2 separate regions of the Homo sapiens genome follow, and region 1 is linked to region 2. Evidence: promoter capture Hi-C in human tissues and cell types (Jung and others, 2019). All regions are on one chromosome and are shown on one strand. The core of a region is centred on a gene start or on the middle of the fragment in contact, and the rest is flanking DNA. Distances in the headings are between cores, read along the strand shown. Region 1 has its middle 64 kb from the start of DCLK2. Region 2 holds the start of MAB21L2 (mab-21 like 2).

What was found. The method cuts DNA at HindIII sites, captures the fragments that hold promoters and counts their contacts. A contact is called where the count stands out against the background at its distance.
Region 1: a fragment that was not itself captured here is called in contact with the fragment with the promoter of MAB21L2 in region 2 in 1 of the 25 tissues and cell types used here (IMR-90 fibroblasts).

The regions. Positions count from the first base shown.
Region 1 is chr4:150,013,233-150,015,932 of GRCh38, reverse strand. No RefSeq gene overlaps it. Among named protein-coding and RNA genes, the nearest start is that of DCLK2, 64 kb to the left of the region's middle. The HindIII fragment of the contact is 4,199 bases long and covers 1-2,700 here.
Region 2 is chr4:150,580,757-150,583,456 of GRCh38, reverse strand. It overlaps MAB21L2 (mab-21 like 2), which reads right to left and starts at 1,306. Exons shown (of 1, transcript NM_006439.5): 1 at 1-1,306. The coding sequence starts at 427. The region is part of intron 40 of LRBA (LPS responsive beige-like anchor protein); the gene reads left to right. LRBA-AS1 (LRBA antisense RNA 1) reads right to left here. Exons shown (of 2, transcript NR_149035.1): 2 at 2,223-2,700. The HindIII fragment of the contact is 7,167 bases long and covers 1-2,700 here.

The DNA of each region.
Region 1 (2,700 bases), core at 6-2,505, 570 kb after region 2:
CCAGCTGCAGAAATTTGCATAAGTAATGAGGAGCCAAATGTTAATCTCCAAGACAATGGGGAAAATATCTCCAGGGCATGTCAGAGGCCTTCATGGTTGCCTCTCCCATGGTTGCCCCTCAGAGGCCTGGAGGCCTATGAGGAAAAAATGGTTTTTGTGGGCTTGGCCCAGGGACTTGCTGCTTTGTGCAGTCTTGAGACTTGGTGCCTGGCATCTCAGCCATGGCTAAAAGGGGCCAACGTACAGCTCAGGCCATTACTTCAGAGGGTGCAAGCCCCAAGTCTTGTTAGCTTCCATGTGGTGTTGTGCCTGTGGGTGTGCAGAAGAGAAGACCTGAGATTTGGGAACCTCCACCTAGATTTCAGAGGATGTATGGAAATGCCCGGATGTCCCGGCAGAGGTCTGCTGCAGGGGCAGGACCCTCATGGAGAACCCCTGCTAGGGCAGGGCCAAAGGGAAATGTGGGGTGGAGCTCCCACACAGAGTCTCTACTGGGACACTGCCTCATGGAGCTGTGAGAAGAGGGTCACTGTCTTCCAGACCCCAGAATGGTAGATCCACTGACAGCTTGCACTGTGTGCCTGGAAAGGCCGCAGACACTTGCCAGCTGTGAAAGTGGCCAGGGAAGGGGTGTGGGGTTGTTACCTTCAAAGCCACAGGGGTGGAGCTGCCCAAGGCTGTGGAAGCCAGCCCTTTGCATCAGTGTGCCCTTGATGTGAGACATGGAGTCAAAGGAGAGTAAGAGCTCTTTGGAGCTCTAAGATTTAATGACTGCCCAGCTGGATTTTGGACTTACATGGGGGCTGTAGCCCCTTTGTTTTGGCCAATTCCTCCCATTTGGAATGAGCACATTTATCCAATGCCCGCAAACCCCATTGTGTCTTAGAAGTAACTAACTTGCTTTTGATATTACAGGCTCCTAGGTGGGAGGGACTTGCTTTGTCTCAGATGCAACTTTGGACTCGAACTTTTGGGTTAATGCTGGAATGAGTTAAGACTTTGGGGGATGGTTGGGAAGGCATGATTGTGTTTTGAAATGTATAAAGGACATGAGATTTGGGAGGGGCCAGGGATGGAATGATATGGTTTGGCTGTGTCCCCAACCCAAATCTCATCCTGAATTGTAATCCCCAGGTGTTGAGGGAGAGACCTGGTGGGAGGTGACTGGATCATGGGAACAGTTTCTGCCATGCTGTTCTCGTGATAGTGAGTGAGTTCTCAAGAGATCTGACGGTTTTATGAGACAGTTTTCCCCGTTCTTGCTAGCTCTCTCTTTCCAGCCACAATACGAAGAAGGTCTTTGCTTCCCGTTCGCCTTCCGCCATGATTGTAAGTTTCCTGAGGCCTCCCAGCCATGGGGAACTATGAGTCAATTAAACCTCTTTTCTTTATAAATTACCCAGTCTCAGGCAGTTCTTTGTAGCAGTGTGAACACAGGCTAATACTTCATGTATTTCGGTTTTGAGGATATCTTTAATGACATGAAGTTGTCAGCATGTTTTCCGAGAATGAGAAACTTAAAAGCAGTTTCTCTCAAGAATTAGAGGGACTTCACTTGAAAGTCGGAAAAAAAATGTTTTAAAAAGTGATACATTTATTATGTGCCAGGAACTCTTCCAAGCACTTTGCAGGGATCAGTTAATTTATTTCTCACACTAGCTCTAAGTTGTAGTGCTATTATTACCCCTGTTTTTATAGTTAAAGAAACTGAGGTATAGAAAAGTTAAGTATCATGTACAAGATAATATCCCCAACATCTGGACATATGTTTTCAATTCACTTTCACAAGCCTGGGGGTGCTATATCAACTATGCTTGTACCAAAGTCACATGAACTGAGACTGTAATTGAATAAGGCACTTAAGTAGTACCTCTGCATAGAGGCTACTCTCAATGAAATTCTGATTATTTTTTCTCTCTTAAGGTGGAAGCCCTTGCAAAACTTAACCTTAATAGCTTATCAACAGTTTCCCCTCAACATTGACACTGAAGTTAACAAGTTGTTTATTAAGGAGCTTTTGGAGTCAAGTATCAGAAATTTCCATAGTGCCTGGAATATCCTATTTGTTAAAAAATCAGATTACAGTTTCTAGAATTCCAAGAATTATATCTAATGTTGTTTGTGATATTAACATGGTAATAGCAGAAAGTGAACTTACAGAAAGTTTTTATTTCAATATAGTGATAGAGGAAAAATATATTTCTTAGGCAACTATAAAAATGACCCTGGTCATCATCCTACTGAAGATAGAACATGGAAAACCCATGATGTTCTTTGTAAAAAAAGAAACGCTTCCAAGCTTCTAGGATTATTTGGTTTCTAACATTTTTTTCTTCTTCTTCAAAATGTGTCATTTTTGTCACACGTTCTAGAAAGACCCTCTGTGGTGTTGGGCTTCCAGTAGAAGAGCATTGTTCATAGTCTCAAGTTAGTATTCATTTCTGAGTCAGAAATGGTACATTATGATGAGCATGAACCTGTTTCTTATTACTGCTGCTCTCCCAGCAGAGATAGAGAAGTACTAAGGCACAAAATGTGAGAGGCATTGAGTTCTCAATTGCTTCCTAATCAAAACCAGTGTCATCCATAGAACATAAGGCCAACAAAGAAATCCTTGCTGTTATCAGCAGGGCCAAGAAGTTCTACAATCACTTCTGTATTCACGCTTTTAATTTTGTATTTATCACATGCCTCTTTGGT
Region 2 (2,700 bases), core at 57-2,556:
ACTTGTCCACCGCCTGGGCCACCAGCGTCTGGAAACGCGAGCGGATCTTACGCGCTGAGAGATAGCCCGACGCCGTGATGAACTCGACCCAGAGAGACATGCTCCGCTTCCGCCCATCGCTCAGTTTGAGCACTGCGCAGCCGGGCAGCGAGCCGTCGTCCACGAAGTTGAAGACGCCCATCTGGTTTAGGTAGAGCACCACCTCAAATTCGGTGGGCGAAATGACCTCGAGCCCCTCGTAGCGGGCATCGATCTCGCTCAAGGAGCTGATGAAGCGAGGCTCCTGCACCTCCACTTCCTTGAGCACGTCCGAGACCACCTTACAGACCTCTCGGATGGTTTTGGCGATGGCCGCCTTGCGCGCCTGACAGCGCTCAGTGTAGTACTTATTGAGCTGGTAAACCAGCTTGGCCTGAGCGGCGATCATGTTGGGGCACAGGTCCGGGCTATACACCGGCGTCTCGCAATACGTTGAGGGATCCAAGGCTCACGCACTGGTGGTGGCCCAGCGGCTTTCGAAAGAGGCGGTGCGCTCCCCGTTAAGCCCTACTTTCACTCTCGTTTTCCACCTGGGCTGACCGGCTGATACCGTAGCCGGCTTGTTTTTTCCTTTTCCCTCTTTCGAAACCTCTTTTCTTCTGCAGAAGAATTAGGGGAGAAAAGGTGATTTTCTAAAAAGAAAAGTACCTCTTGGAACCTTTTTGCTTTCTCTTGATATGTAAAGATGACCGTGTGCGAGAGAAGCGGGGTGGGCGTGAGGAAGGAGAAGGAGAGGGAAAAAACTCAGGATACCAAAAGGTTAGGCTTAGATGTCTGCAGCCGAGATTGTCCAGAAATCTGGAAATGAGGTTTTTTAAGTGCCAAAGTAAATTTAAAAATAAAAGCGAAACATTCAGTGGTTCATTCTTAAACTTCTCTTCCACGCTGATAGGACTTCTTCGCTCAGTGTAGGTGAGTGCCTTCTTCCTCACCCTCCCCCAAATGGAAGGTGCAGGAGGTAATTAATGTCCAGAGAGCTGCGAAGTACAACTCAGTCCGCCGTGCACTTGGAGGTTTGCTGACGCCCCACAGTCTCAGCGTGTTGGTCTCGTCTCTTCTCGGGGGGTCGTGTTATCGCAGTTTTCCTCTTTTCCTACTGGAGGCGTTGTTTGGACTGGGTTTGTTTGTTTGTAGTGGGTTCTCCTTGTGTTTCTTTAGGTGCAAACCGCTGGAAGTTGTTTGATAATCATTTCTGCTTCGTAATTTATACTTTTGGCCCTCACAAAATCCGTTTTAGTGTGACGAAGTCGTTGCTTGCGTTGCATCTGGGGTGTAGTTATAACGATTCAGGGTTTTCCTTCTTCTCCTCTAGCTTGCTTTTACAGATTCCACTTTCTGAGTCGTCTCTCCCCCTCCTCTCCCCTCCGACCTCTTTCTCGCCCCGCTCTCCCCCTGCTTCTCTCCCCCGCCCCCCTTCCTCGTGCTCGCTCTCTCTTCTTTCCTCTAACTCTCTCTGTCTCTCTCTCTCCCTCTCTCTTTCTTTCTCTCTCTCCCTCGCTGTTTCCTGGAGTTATTTAGTTTATGAATGGTCCCAGGGCCATCATGAGGGGGTGGAGCTTCAGTTCCTACAATCGCTATCCGAGCTGTCAGTGCTTTAGCCAATCCGAGAGAGAAGACAGGCACGCTTGGCGAACGGTAGCAGCCACCACTGCACTTGATAAAGAAACAGGGTAAAGAGAGAAGTAAGAAAATAGGAGGAGATAATGGGAGTCAAATGCTTGCACACATTTTACAGCCGTTCCTCTTTATCCTCCTCTCTTATCAGTAGCAAAGAAGAAAAAGAGTTTATATAGAAGGGACTCTCCTGGAGATGGCTGGAATAACGCGAGGGAGAGTAGCAATGGTTCAGAAAGGTTCACTTTTTTTTTTTTTAAATGATTCTATCAACATTGTGTAGTAGAAGGTGCAAACTGTAACAAAATTACTTTGGCTTGAAGGCAAATGGGAAGCGAAAGGGGAATCTGGGAAAGGACCTAATTTTTCCAGGTTTTTTCCTCCTTTAAAGTCATCCTCCTTTCTCTTCCCCTCCCCTCCCATTGTTGCCAAGAATCAGAGCAGTTGCTGTATATGTGCACCAGTGAGGGTTGGAGTGGATATAAGGTGAGGGTTTATAAATCTCTTTTTAGTAATTTCGATATGCTGTTTAAAAACAGGGCAGGGCAAAAACTAGTCCAAGCACCTTGTTTGATAATTATTTCATAATTAAGATTCACATGTATTTAATACCATTATTTTATCGTTACAAGAATTAACTAGTTACGAGAGAGAAAATATCTAAGTTGTGAGAAATGGTGCAAACTTACATGTCGTAGAACTTAGTAGGATATACTTTTAAAATAAGCTACTAAAATTGCTTCAAACTTAATGAAAAACAAGGCAAGTAAATGTAAACCTAAAGTTTTCTTAAAATCTTACTGTTGTAAATCTAATTGTGAATGTATTCTTAGGGGGTACAGGTACAGAGTTTCATTTGTAAAATGATTTTATTTTCATAATTGACTCTTGCTTTTAAAAGACTTCACTGCCACAAAAATCTATAACTATCCTGTTATTGATTACACAGATGGCTTCACTCCTCCCTAGGCATTTCAATGAAAGGCATGCATGTGCTTTTAGTATATGTATTATCCTAAACGAGTTGTACCCACTGTAGCCTTTCCA